2 separate regions of the Homo sapiens genome follow, and region 1 is linked to region 2. The links are contacts of gene promoters, found by promoter capture Hi-C in blood cells and fetal thymus (Javierre and others, 2016). All regions are on one chromosome and are shown on one strand. Each heading gives the region's core, a stretch centred on a gene start or on the middle of the fragment in contact. The rest is flanking DNA. Distances are from core to core; before and after follow the strand shown. Region 1 holds the start of TRH-GTG1-9 (tRNA-His (anticodon GTG) 1-9). Region 2 holds the start of GOLM2 (golgi membrane protein 2).

Region 1 (6,772 bases), core at 1,925-4,424, 920 kb after region 2:
GTCCACAGCGCTCCCGGCTGCTCTTGCGGGTGAACGTGGGTGCGGGAGGAACCTGGTAGATAATGGACGCTTAGGAAAGCTGGAATGGCCGCCATCTAGACGAGAAGGGCAACACTGGGTCAGCTGCTCGTCGTGGCGTCCCGGTAGCTCGCCGTGATCGTATAGTGGTTAGTACTCTGCGTTGTGGCCGCAGCAACCTCGGTTCGAATCCGAGTCACGGCATTGTGGAAACAATGGTACGGCAAGGGCCTCTTTTTAGACTTAGAAAGCCACACATTCTTCTGGGAAGCTAACTCTAAAAGCTGTTACCTGGCCAGGGCTGAAATTATAACGGACAATGAAGTGTGCACAAAAAGTTCGGTGCACACTCTGGGGCTTTCCTTTCTCATCTGCTAGTGAATCAGTCACCCCCACCTTCCCCAATATGTGATTATTTTATTTTTGTGTAGTTTCTGTGTGGTACTCTTTATTTTACCCTTGTGAATGACCGAATCATATATTGGATCCTCTAAAAACCTTCACACTAGCTAAAACATCAATACTTTGGGACAAAGGGGTGATAGGAACAATGTGCAAACATTAATTAAGGGTTAGAAGAATGCAGATTAGACCATACGCTGAACCGTTTTGCTTCAGATCCCGTGACAAGTGAAATATATGACTGCACTAGAGGTGCTGGTTCCAGTAGCCACTATGAGGGGTGCTAATGAGAGGTTTGTGGCCTTCATCTCCACAGTCTCCTAGGTGAGAGGGGGTTTTCTCCTGGAGGGTTTTCCCCTAATCTACCTCAAGTTTAAGCACATTTTGTTTGCTTGTTTTATGTGGACCTAAAAAACCCAAACTCAACAAATTCAAGTCTGTCATTTGGCATTAGGCAAAATGGAAGTGAGTTTTGGATTTGACTTTCAGGCAGCTGGTGGTGGCTATGTCACTCTCAAGGAGGGAATGAGAGGGCACTGAGGAATGAGCCTCTCCAGCTCCTCTCAGGTGTCCTGAGGGTGGCAAGGCAAGCCCGAGATCATTCCTGGGAGAGACAGACATTGCAATGGGGTTGCGCCCCCTCTACCCACAATCAATCAGTAAAGAATGAACAGCACTTAAAAGCTAGGCACTGGCTTCATGCCTGTAATCCCAGCACTCTGGGAGGCCGAGGTGGGCGGATCTCTTGAGCTCAGGAGCTCCAGACCAGCCTGGGCAACATGGCGAAACCCTGTCTGTACCCAAAATACAAAAATTAGGGCATGGTGGCGTGTGCCTGTAGTCCCGGCTACCTGGGAGGCTAAGGTGGAAGGATTGCTTGAACCCGAGAGGCAGAGGTTGCAGTGAGCTGAGATCACACCACTGCATTCCAGCCTGGGCGACAGAGCAAGACCCTGTCTCAAAAAAAAAAAAAAAAAAAAAAAAAAAAAAGCAAGGCACTGCGTGGGGGCTGTAATCTCCCCAGGTCTCCAGTCTCCCAGTTCTCTACATTTGGCGAGTTTAAACCACACAACAGGACAGCTCACACCTCGAGAGTGTTCTGCGCAAAATAGAATGGGGAAAGGTGAGCCTGAGAACTTGCCAAGCTTTGGATGACTGATTCAAACGTTATATGTCTAGAAAATCAACATCGCCAACAACAAAAAAAGAACTGGCCAACAGGAATGTGGTGACTTATATTCCTCCAACCCCTCACCAAATAACTGCTGTGACGGATTTCAATCTGTGGGCTGGAATAAGGTGTCAGGGTGGGATGCCAGGAAAGGCTCTGGCTTTTCCCCTGAAGACCAGCCCCCACTGCCCTGCTGCAGGTGCTTCAGTAGGCAATGAGCTGCTCCCACACCCTGAGGAGAAAGTTAGGAGTAGCCACTCTCTAAGAGTACTACAAGGAAAAAGTGTCAACCAAGAGGCTGGGCATGGTGGTTCATGCCTGTAATCCCAGCATTTTGGGAGGCTGAGGTGGGAGGATTGCTTGAGCTCCGGGGTTTGAGACCAGCCTAGACAACATGGTGAGAAGCTCTCTCTATAAAAAATACAAAAATTAGCCAGGTGTGGCGGTGTGTACCTGTAGTCCCAGCTATTCAGGAGGCTGAAGTGGGAGAATTGCTTGAGCCTGGGAGGGGGAGATTGCAGTGAGCCGTGATCATGCCACTGAACTCCAGCCTGGGCAACAGAACAAGACCCTGTCTCAAAAAAAAAAAAAAGCGTCAACCAATAAAACAAAAATCACAAACATTCACCATCTGAGATAACCCACTAGCCATCCATGTCTGAGGTCAGGAATGCTAAAGAAAGCTGAACTGAAAGTGTTGTATTGTGACCTAGTTGCAGGAAGAGTGACACGAGGGGAGGGCTGCCTTTTTGGCAGCTACACGGTAGTCCATGAGATGGGCGCATCCAGCTCTCAACATTTCATAACATCCTCTTCTGAGGTCACTCAGTCAATTTTCCTTACAAAACAGACTTTGATAATGATTTGCCCATTAGACTTCCCTACAGGAAAAAGCATGCTTTGAACAAGCTTATTGGCACTGTTCTCCTAACTGTGGGTGTTTTGGTTTAGACTCATAAGAGTCTGGTTAGCATAATTCATTTCCCTTGTGCCTACTTATCTCTAGGTACACTGACAAAATGGAATGTCAGGGCTGGCAAAGCCCTGCTCCTGGAGACCCTGGCCTGGAATGACCTCATCAAGACCCCGCTGCCCTGGGACACCCTCTCTGAGCAATCAGTCAGCACCCCCTTCCTGTTGGTCCCTTGCTTTTAAAATTGTTTTATGATTTCTGATTCTGGGAATGTAATATTTCCTCCTATCACTTCCAGCTTGAGGTTGGAACTCTTCTCTAGGTCTCAGTGCCAGGAAAGAGGTAGGGTGCTTATACTTAAGAGCACCCTGTTCACACATTCCAGCTCCAGTTGTTCCCATCTTGGTTGGATTTGTTAATTTCTGCAGGTTTCCAACCTCTAAGTCACTTTGAATTTTTTTCCCTTCCATCTGATAGACCCTGAGGTACAGTAGTTGATAGTACTAGACTAGTCCTAACTCTAATTAAGGGGTAGCATAAGTTGGGGATGGTGGCTCACGCCTGTAATCCCAGCACTTTGGGAGACTAAGGTGGGAGGATTGCTTGAGCCCAGGAGTTCAAGACCAGACTAGACAGTATAATGAGACCTCGTCTCTGTTGGGGGAGCTAGCATAGCTTAGTAATGAAGCCTCTGACACCTGAAAGTAGGCTGTTTAAGATTTGAATCTCAACTCATCCATTTACTAACTAGGTGACCCTGGGGAAGCAACATGTCTCCATGCCTCAGTTTTCTCACCTGTAAAATGATTGTAGAATGACTTCTCATCTGTAAAAGGATTGTTATGAAGATTAAATGAATGAATATTTGTAAAGCAATAGTGCCTGGCACTTACAAAGCCCTACTGAAGTTTTACTTAAATAATATAGTAGATGGGAATATAACATAATGAAATCAACTCCTTAAAAATGAACACCCTGGAACATAAACATCCAAATGAGTATTGTGTTTCAAATCAGGCATTCCACTTTCTCCAAACAGCTGCCCAAAATATTTTTGGAATTCTTATTTGGAGATTATTTTCAGGGCTAATTTATAAGCCATATGAGTACATCCACCTCAATATTTATAATCACATTCTATTTTGAAATAACTTTTGACTGCTTTTAAAGCTACCTTCAAAGAGAAAAATGTCACCACTGAGTCTTTTAAGGCACAAAAATTTCAATGACAATGCCAGAAATGTTTTATAAATAACATTCCAGCAAAAGAAAAACAATTTTTTTTTTTTGGTAGGAGTGTGTAGACTTCAAAGGGCAAACCTTGAAAGGGACAACAGTAATTTATAAGCTTCAGATTGTCTGCTTAAACCATCAACCCCACAGCTTCCTGGTTATACTCCCTGGTTATACCTCGTATATCTGGGAGCTGCCAACCCCCACAGGGGCGCAGTGTTGAGCAGCTGCCACTGGACCAGCAGGCTCTGGTCCTGGAAGGCTTGTCCAAAATTCAGAATCTTGATCCACAACTCAGAATTACCCAGTGAAAATCTTCGGTTTTCCACAAGGTCCTCTCCAAGTGATTCATCTGCACAGGAAAGTTTGAGAAGTGCTGCTCTAGCCTAAAGCTCTAATGGAATCCTTCATTGTTCATCTTGTGAGTACTTGGGTTACTAGAAGGGACCTGCCTGAATCTACTGAGCCTCATCAATGGGGATGTCATTGAGGTTTTCACAGTGAGGAGATGGTGATCTGGGAGGGAGTCATCAAAGGGCCCATGTTTAGGGCCGTCTAGGGAGGAGGCAGCACATCTGGATTTCCACTAGAAGGCGCTGTGCCCCAGGAAGTAGTAGTGAAAAGCTGAGGCTGGAAAAGACTCATTTAATTTGCAACATACCACTTCTGACTTAACTGAGCCTGTTCCACAGGGATTCTCTGGGTAATGAGGACTCAGATTTCATCCATCTACTTATCTATCCATTCATCCATCCATCCATCCATCCATCCATCCATCCATCCATCCACTCATTCATTCATTCATTCATTCTTCATTCTTCCCATAAACTAGCATCTCTTAGTTCTTAAGTCATTGGGGGCTGCAAAGCTGTATAAGATACTTCTTGCCTAGAGTAGTTTATTTTTGAGCTGAGTTTGTCAACTGAGATTTGCCCCTCATCCAAAGTCAAGTGACCAGCATAGACTGTTCAATATGCTGTAGTCGGTCTCTTGTTTCTAGGTACTTCTCTCCATATCCACAAAAAGAAACTGTAGGGAAAGATGGTGCAGGACTTTATTCCTGGCATGAGACCTGAAACTAATTCCTGAGTCAGGAAGAATGCAGGAGCTGCCTTGCAGAAGCAAAGGTCTAAATCAGTGGTTTCCAAACTTTTTAGAACTGATAAACTAGGACAAACTTTTCACCACTGAATGAAAAAATGAGGTCAATGTGGTAAGCTTTTAAAATGCTAAATGCATTTAATCCAAAGGACTGTCCTCTAGGCTGAGACAATGACCTTTTTATTTTTGAGGTATTAAAGTGACTTTTATAAAACTATGGAGAAAGTAGGTGATAGGTGTTTTTTTGTTTGTTTTTGTTTTTGTTTGTTTGTTTTTTAGACGGAGTCTTGCTCTTGGCTCACTGCAACCTCTGCCTCCCAGGTTCAAGCGATTCTCCTGCCTCAGCCTCCTGAGTAGCTGGGATTACAGGCATGTGCCGCCACACCCAGCTCATTTTTGTATTTTTAGTAGGGACGGGGTTTCACCTTGTTGGCCAGGTTAGTCTTGAACTCCTGACCTCAGGTAATCCACCTGCCTCGGCCTCCCAAAGTGTTGAGATTACAGGCATGAGCCACTGTACCCAGCCAGTGATAGGTTTTAAAAAACATCTTTTCTTGGAAACGTTTTAAATTGGCAATGTTGGTCTCCAAAATTAGTTTTGAGTTACTGGTCAGAAAAATCTGCAAATACAAAGCTCACTACAGAGTTCAGAGAGCCAAAGCATCAGGCTGAGCAGAAATGGTCCTGGGTGAGTAGGGGGTCTGAGGAGGCATGCTCAGAGGGAGATGTGTTCCTGTTCTGTTGGGCAATGGTCCATGCTGACACCTATCCTCCTGCCCAATAACCAGTAGTGCCTAGTATGATCTGTGCTAGGCCTTGGAGATATGAATTAAATAAGACCCATTCTTACTCTGAGATCATTTTAGTTCGGGGTTAATCAGATGAGTGAAGAACTAATTAGAACTATGCCAGACATATATACAAAGTGTGTTGGAGCTTAGATCGTTGATTCTACCAGGATACAACATTTGATCTGAGTTCCAAGGCATGCATAGTACTTTTCCTGGAAAAGAAAGGGAAAGGATATTCTACTTGGGAGGCTGAGGCAGGAGAATCACTTAAGGCTGAGAGGCGGAGGTTGTAGTGAGCCGAGATTGCTCCACTGCACTCCAGCCTGGGTGAGAGAATGAGACTCTGTCTCAAAAAAGATAAAAAGGAAAGGGTATTCTAGGCAAAGAGAAAGGCATAAGTAAAAGCAAGGAAGTATGATGCACAGATAGCATAGGAAAAGACAAGTTGTAGCTACAACATTAGATATGGAGGGGAGGGAGGCCGGGGAGGGCGGATCACTTGAGGCCAGGAGTTCGAGACTAGCCTGGCCAACATGGTGAAACCCCATCTCTACTAAAAATACAAAAATTAGATGGGTGCAATGGCACATGCCTGTAATTCCCCCTAAAACAAACAAACAAAGAAACAACAAAGATATGGAGGAGAGAGTGGAGGGTGAGAGGCTGGAGCCAAATTTTGATGAATCTCTTACTTGAGTCAGGCCTTTTTCCTGGAGGCTGGTGTTTCTTCACATTTTGTGGTAACATTGCTTTGGGGATCCATTGACAGCCACAGCCTTGTTCTCCAAAGTAATACACCTATGATAAAATATCAGGAATTCACAAATTTCCTGAAGGCTGTCCATAGGCTTTGTGTCAGGCATTGAGGGGAGAGGGGCATTTAAGTTCCCATTTTTAAGCAGAAGAGAGACATAGTCATATCTGTGTTTTAGAAAGGTTAGGTGTAAATGGATAATTATATCCTGATAAAAGTCTTCATTCAGGAGAGACAGAAGAGAATTTCTGCTCCCTGGACTAGTAGTTGATGTTGGAGCTCGGGGACTAATACTCATCTAGGGATGAACGAGGGACTCTTCCCTCAAATCACACCTATAGATGTTTTCTCTTTAGCATGGAGGTAGAGGGGATGAACATGTTGGATAA
Region 2 (6,083 bases), core at 685-3,184:
AATATTTATACTTTTAGATTTGCCTATGTAAAAATGAAAACACTCGTGGGAACAGTAAATCTTAAGTAGTTAACATAACTTTATAGAATAATTTTTTTTTCTCTTCAGACGGAGTCTCACTCTGTTGCCCAAGGTGGGGTGCAATGGCACGATCTCGGCTCACTGCAACCTCTGCCTCACCGATTCAAGTGATTCTCCTGCCTCAGCCTCCCGAGTAGCTGAGGCTACAGGGGTGAGCCACCGCGCCCGGCCTAGAATAATTTTCGATTGCTGGTTGAGCAGAGCAAGGCCAATATGAGTTGAGGAAAGCAGAGATGGAAAGGCTCTTTATAGTTAATGATTTCTCATTTTTGCTTTGCTTCCTTTTGCCAAAGTCGGCTTGTCATCTGAGAGTGGAGAGGATTTGTTAGATCTTATGAAGCCAGAGCTCACTTCTGATGTGAACCAAGTATTAATAATTTTGGTGGTGGTTTTCTGTACTGCATCTGAGAGAGTAATCATTGTTCTTTGAAGATGCAATAATTCTACGCTACTACGGGACTTAGGGAAATAATTTTTGAGGATAGGAAGCACAGAATAATTAAGATGACAAGTCTTCCTGCCTCAAAATCATATCACTCTGATTCGAATAAAAAATACCAAGGTTTTTCCTTCTTGAGGTTTTATACTCATGGAAGTTCTTCAACCTGAGGTCTGAAAAATAAGGCAACCCCATCCTCTCCTTAAACAGGTTAGAGCCAGTACCTTTTTATTTCTCTATGCACGGACAAAATAATTATGCAAAAAAAAAAAAGAGGCAGGTTTTGTTTTTTTTTTTGCACTACTGAAATTCACACTTAACATATAAACAATCTGCTATATGCAGACAGCACTGGTGTTTAGAGTTCAATGATCTGGATTCAAGCCTATTTAAAACCAGATAAGAGAAAGTTCCCAAACATCTATGTGTCTTGGATTCTTCATCTGTAAAATTGCGTTGTTGAGAAGATAATATGAGACTAGGCGCGCAAAACAATTTGTTAGAGCTATTATTTCTAACCCGGAATGTGTTCGCTGGCAGTAACAGTGCATTAGTTACGATTCATCGAGGGCAGCTTCTGGACTTTCTGTTTGGAAGCCCAGCTGAGGCAAAAGCAGCAGTGCGTTTAAAAATTGGAGCTCGCCACATTCTGAAATTCTTTCGGTTCGTGAAAGCAGTAACCTAGGAAACGAGACTGGCACCACCCCTTTCAGTCCTAAAGCTTGGTTTCTCCCGCTTTTCTCCATTATGTTTAGGGCATCGCTATTTTACAGTCTTTTTGTTTTTTCTTTCCACATCATTAGCACAAAAGAGAAATTCCCCTTCTACAGAAGCAAGTACAAAACCTTTCTAGTCGCTCCTTTTTGGCAGCAGCTCACCTACTATTTTTTTCTATTCCGCGGTCGCAGCCCCAGACGTCCTCAAAGACAAATATTTTCGCGAGGGCCAGTGTAGGGCAGGAACTCCCTAGGCCTTGAATCAAGGGAATCCAGTAGATAACAACAGAAAGGACTCCGACCCAGGTACCTGAGACATCTGAGACCGCCAAAATTAACACAACACCCTACGCGACAGAGAAAACTCTGGGCGGGGAGAGAGAAAGAGAGCGAGCGAGCGAGAGAGAGAGAGAGCGAGAGAGAGAGAGAGAGAGAGAGAGAGAGAGAGAGAGAGAGAGAGAAAGAGAGCGAGCGAGAGAGAGCGAGAGAGCGAGAGAGCGAGAGAGCGAGAGAGCGAGAGAGAGAGAGAGAGAGAGAGAGAGAGAGAGAGAGAGAGAGAGAGAGAGAGAGAGACGAGAGGAAGCAACGTTCTCGCGACAAGAGGGGTGTCGACGGAAACTCGGAAATGGTCCCCTAGACGACCCGGCCCCAGCTAGTGGGTGGGGCCAGGGTACATCCGCCCCTTTCCGGTTTTTTTCCCCGCCTCCCAACCGTGAGGTGTTGGGTTTGGGGGACGCTGGCAGCTGGGTTCTCCCGGTTCCCTTGGGCAGGTGCAGGGTCGGGTTCAAAGCCTCCGGAACGCGTTTTGGCCTGATTTGAGGAGGGGGGCGGGGAGGGACCTGCGGCTTGCGGCCCCGCCCCCTTCTCCGGCTCGCAGCCGACCGGTAAGCCCGCCTCCTCCCTCGGCCGGCCCTGGGGCCGTGTCCGCCGGGCAACTCCAGCCGAGGCCTGGGCTTCTGCCTGCAGGTGTCTGCGGCGAGGCCCCTAGGGTACAGCCCGATTTGGCCCCATGGTGGGTTTCGGGGCCAACCGGCGGGCTGGCCGCCTGCCCTCTCTCGTGCTGGTGGTGCTGCTGGTGGTGATCGTCGTCCTCGCCTTCAACTACTGGAGCATCTCCTCCCGCCACGTCCTGCTTCAGGAGGAGGTGGCCGAGCTGCAGGGCCAGGTCCAGCGCACCGAAGTGGCCCGCGGGCGGCTGGAAAAGCGCAATTCGGACCTCTTGCTGTTGGTGGACACGCACAAGAAACAGATCGACCAGAAGGAGGCCGACTACGGCCGCCTCAGCAGCCGGCTGCAGGCCAGAGAGGGCCTCGGGAAGAGATGCGAGGATGACAAGGTAAGGACGACCCTTTTCTCTTCAAACCCCATGGTTTCTTTTCTCCCCGGGGTCTGGGGCGGGATGTTAATCCGCTAGCTGTTGTCTTATGCCTTCCAGTATTTCAGTCCTGAAGGCTCCTTTCACCCCCAACAACCCTGTTTCTGTCAGACTTTTCCCAGTTTATCAGTGCCACGTTCTCTGGTCCCTGCCAGAAAAAAATGACTGTAAATTCTGGTTCTCAAGAGTGGACTGTGTGCAGATGCTGCCTATTCTCTAAGCTCAGCTGGTGAGTTGGCAGTAGTAATCATCTGGCCTGTGTGGCCCCCTTACCTTCAAAGACACACAAATCTGGCGACTGCCAGGTTTGGTGTGGTTATTGTCTCATTTTTATTCCGTGCACACTGATCAATATTAATTTCGTTATTTAAAGAACGAAGCCGCCTCTGACTCCTCTACTTATGGTAGTCATCATATATTTTTTAAGCTGTGTGACTTTTAAAATCTCTATAGGGTGATGTATTGAATAACTAAATAATCAGCTATGACTGCCTTTTTGTGATCAAAATGTTATGATAGATGGGCCCTCGAGCTATATGTGAGACACACTTGTGTCTTGGACATAGTTGATCCATCATTATCTACTCAATTTGAATTGTTAATGAAATCAGCCAAAAGATTAGAATCTGAAAATAAATTTTAAGCAGTGGAATGTCATGTCAGTGTCTTCATTGAAAGAAAATAGAATGAAATTTTGTATAGCTAAGTTGCTATTAGGGTTGGTGTTTTATGCAGATGGAAAACTATACAAAGTTTTAAATATAAAAAGTTTAAAATTGAACTGTAATCATACTTGCTACTAAATAATCCTTGTTTTCATTAGCTCATTGGTAACTATATTAATAGTTTATGACTTAGCAACTTCTGTAGGTATAGTAGAGTTATGAAAATTTCTGGGCAGGATAGTAGATGCCTTTCTATACACTTCTTTGGTAATCTTCACATTTTTGTGTGTAAATGCCCATTATAATTACAAGTTTTACTTTGCATATCAAAATCACTTAAGGGTAAGTCATTATGAATTAAACTGTCTGTGAGCTTCTAACTTTCCTGTTGACAGCCTCTACCTGGCTTTCTTATTTCATGAAGATTAAGGCCCTCAGCTAAGTGCTTCCCTATAACCCCCTCCTCTTCACCATAACATAGACATGCTATGATAGGGTCAAGGAATCAGTACATTTATATGTGCGCTGCATGCTTAACTCTAAAGACTGAAAAACTCTCGGGCAGAGTAGGTAGAAATCCATGAAAGTTTGGAGTATTAAAGTAAGGTCTTCCTACTTGGCATGGTTGAGCATTACAATTCACATTCTTCTCTCTGGTCTCAAAGGAAAGTCTCTTGTTGTAATTAATACTCTTGATTCCATTCTTTCATCCATTGGACTTTTTGTTGTTGTCGTTGTTGTTGTTGTTGTTGTTTTTTGAGACGGAGTTTTGTTTTTGTTGCCCAGGCAGGAGTGCAATGGCGTGATCTCAGCTCACTGCAACCTCCGCCCCCCCGGGGTTCAAGCAATTCTCCTGCTTCAGCCTCCTGAGTAGCTGGGATTACAGGCATGCACCACCACGCCTGGCTAATTTTGTATTTTTAGTAGAGAAGGGGTTTCTCAATGTTGGTCAGGCTGGTCTTGAACTACCAACCTCAGGTGATCCGCCCGCCTCAGCCTCCCAAAGTGCTGGGATTACAGGTGTGAGCCACCATGCCCAGCCTCTTTTTTTTTTTTTTTTTTTAAAGAGACAGGGTCTCATTGTGTTGCCCAGGCTGGAGTGCAGTAGCTGTTACACAGGCATGATGCACTATAGCATTGAAATCCTGAGCTCAAGTGATCCTCCTGCTTCAGCCTCTGAGTAGCTGGGACTGCAGGTGTGCACCACCTTGCCCAGCTCTACTGAACTGTCTCTTTCAGTTTGTTTCACTTTTTACCTTCAACAGTATGTGGGTGTCCCCTGTTCTCAGTAAAGGAAAAAAAATCTGTATATTCCTTTCTCCCAACCAACCCATTTGTTTTTTCACTTTCATTGCTAAAGTCAAATTATTGATGGTCTACAAATGTTCCATCTACCTATTTTTTCATAACCATCCTAATCTTAAAATGTCTGCCATCTTTCTTTCCTCCCCTTTTTTGAAACTATTCTCTTGAAGGTCACAAATGGCAGTCTTCCTAGTCAAAACCAAAGAATATTTTTATTCTTACTGTATTTGACCTCCCAGTAGTTTGATCCTGTTGATTGTCTCTAGCTATTTGGAAACTATTTTCTTTCTTGCTTCTGTTATACTGGACTCTCCAGTCTTATCTTCTTCACTATATTCTTTGCTGGATTTATTTTTTCTTTCCAGTCACCTAGTAAGGGACTCTGTTATTGAGCCTTTGCTCTCCCATAAGAGCAGTATTCCCCAAAGTAGTGTTAAACAGAATACCCTTCTTGTAATATTTCTTAGGTGGTGAGGAGAAAAAAATGAAAACCTTTTTTGGAGGGAAATGTTAGTGTATCCTCCTCTTGGAATTCATAATGCCTGCTGGAATATAAAAGCTCTGAGAAATCCATTAATAAAGAAGGCTATTCAATTTTGTTTAACTCAGTCTTGTTTAGTTTATTTGATCACAGGTTACTATTTTCATGGCCTACCTATTATGGCACAGAATAATATAGCAAAGCCCACTAGTTTGGGAAATATTGCCCTGGGTATCTTAACTACTTTTAAGTGTTTGGCTAATATTTTATGCAGCTGGCTCACAAGACTGTATCTCTTATTGAATGTCAGTTCTGTGTGTGTATATGTGTATACATACATATATATATATATATATTTTTTTTTTTTTTTAGACAGAGTCTCGCTCGGTTAAGCAGGCTGGAGTACAGTGGTGTGATCTCGGCTCACTGCAAGCTCCGCCTCCTGGGTTCACGCCATTCTCTGCTTCAGCCTCCTGAGTAGCTGGGACTACAGGCGCCCACCTCCATGCCCGGCTAATTTTTTGTATTTTTAGTAGAGATGGGGTTTCACCATGTTAGCCAAGATGGTCTCGATCTCCTGACCTCGTGATCCACCAGCCTTGGCCTCCCAAAGTGCTGAGATTACAGGCGTGAGCCACCGCACCCGGCTAGTTCTGTATATTTTTAAAAGTTTTTTCTTTTTTTAGTTTTGTAGAGATAGGGTGTTGCTATGTTGCCCAGGCTGCTTTCAAACTCCTGGCTCCAAGTGATCTTGCCTTGGGCTCACAAAGTGCTGGGATTCTAGGTGTGTGCCACAGCACTTGGTGTGCCACTTCTGTATTTTGAGCTGGCTATAACAACTTTCTTGGGCTGCTTGTGAATGTCTGTTCTTGGGGTTAATGAGGACTCTCTGAGCTGCTTAGTAGAAAGGGTAGTCTTGGTCTCTGTATTTTAAACTTAACAGTTTTTCAGGGTTTTTTTTATTGTTATTGTTGTTTGTTTGTTTTGAGACAGGGTCTTGCTCTGTCACCCAGGCTGGAGA

The links. Contacts are between HindIII fragments. The CHiCAGO score rates a contact against its expected background, and 5 or more counts as called.
Region 1: a contact is called between a fragment that was not itself captured here and the fragment with the promoter of GOLM2 in region 2, in 1 of 17 cell types (fetal thymus). The highest score is 5.2, in fetal thymus.

The regions. Positions count from the first base shown.
Region 1 is chr15:45,201,001-45,207,772 of GRCh38, forward strand. TRH-GTG1-9 (tRNA-His (anticodon GTG) 1-9) reads left to right here and starts at 151; the gene lies at 151-222. It also overlaps a transcript of SHF not described here. RefSeq lists an enhancer at 1-352 and silencers at 226-285, 306-355. The HindIII fragment of the contact is 1,352 bases long and covers 2,499-3,850 here.
Region 2 is chr15:44,286,785-44,292,867 of GRCh38, forward strand. GOLM2 (golgi membrane protein 2) reads left to right here and starts at 1,935. Exons shown (of 10, transcript NM_138423.4): 1 at 1,935-2,572. The coding sequence starts at 2,246. RefSeq lists enhancers at 994-1,900, 1,282-1,351, 1,747-2,041 and a silencer at 1,852-2,211. The HindIII fragment of the contact is 5,453 bases long and covers 1,240-6,083 here.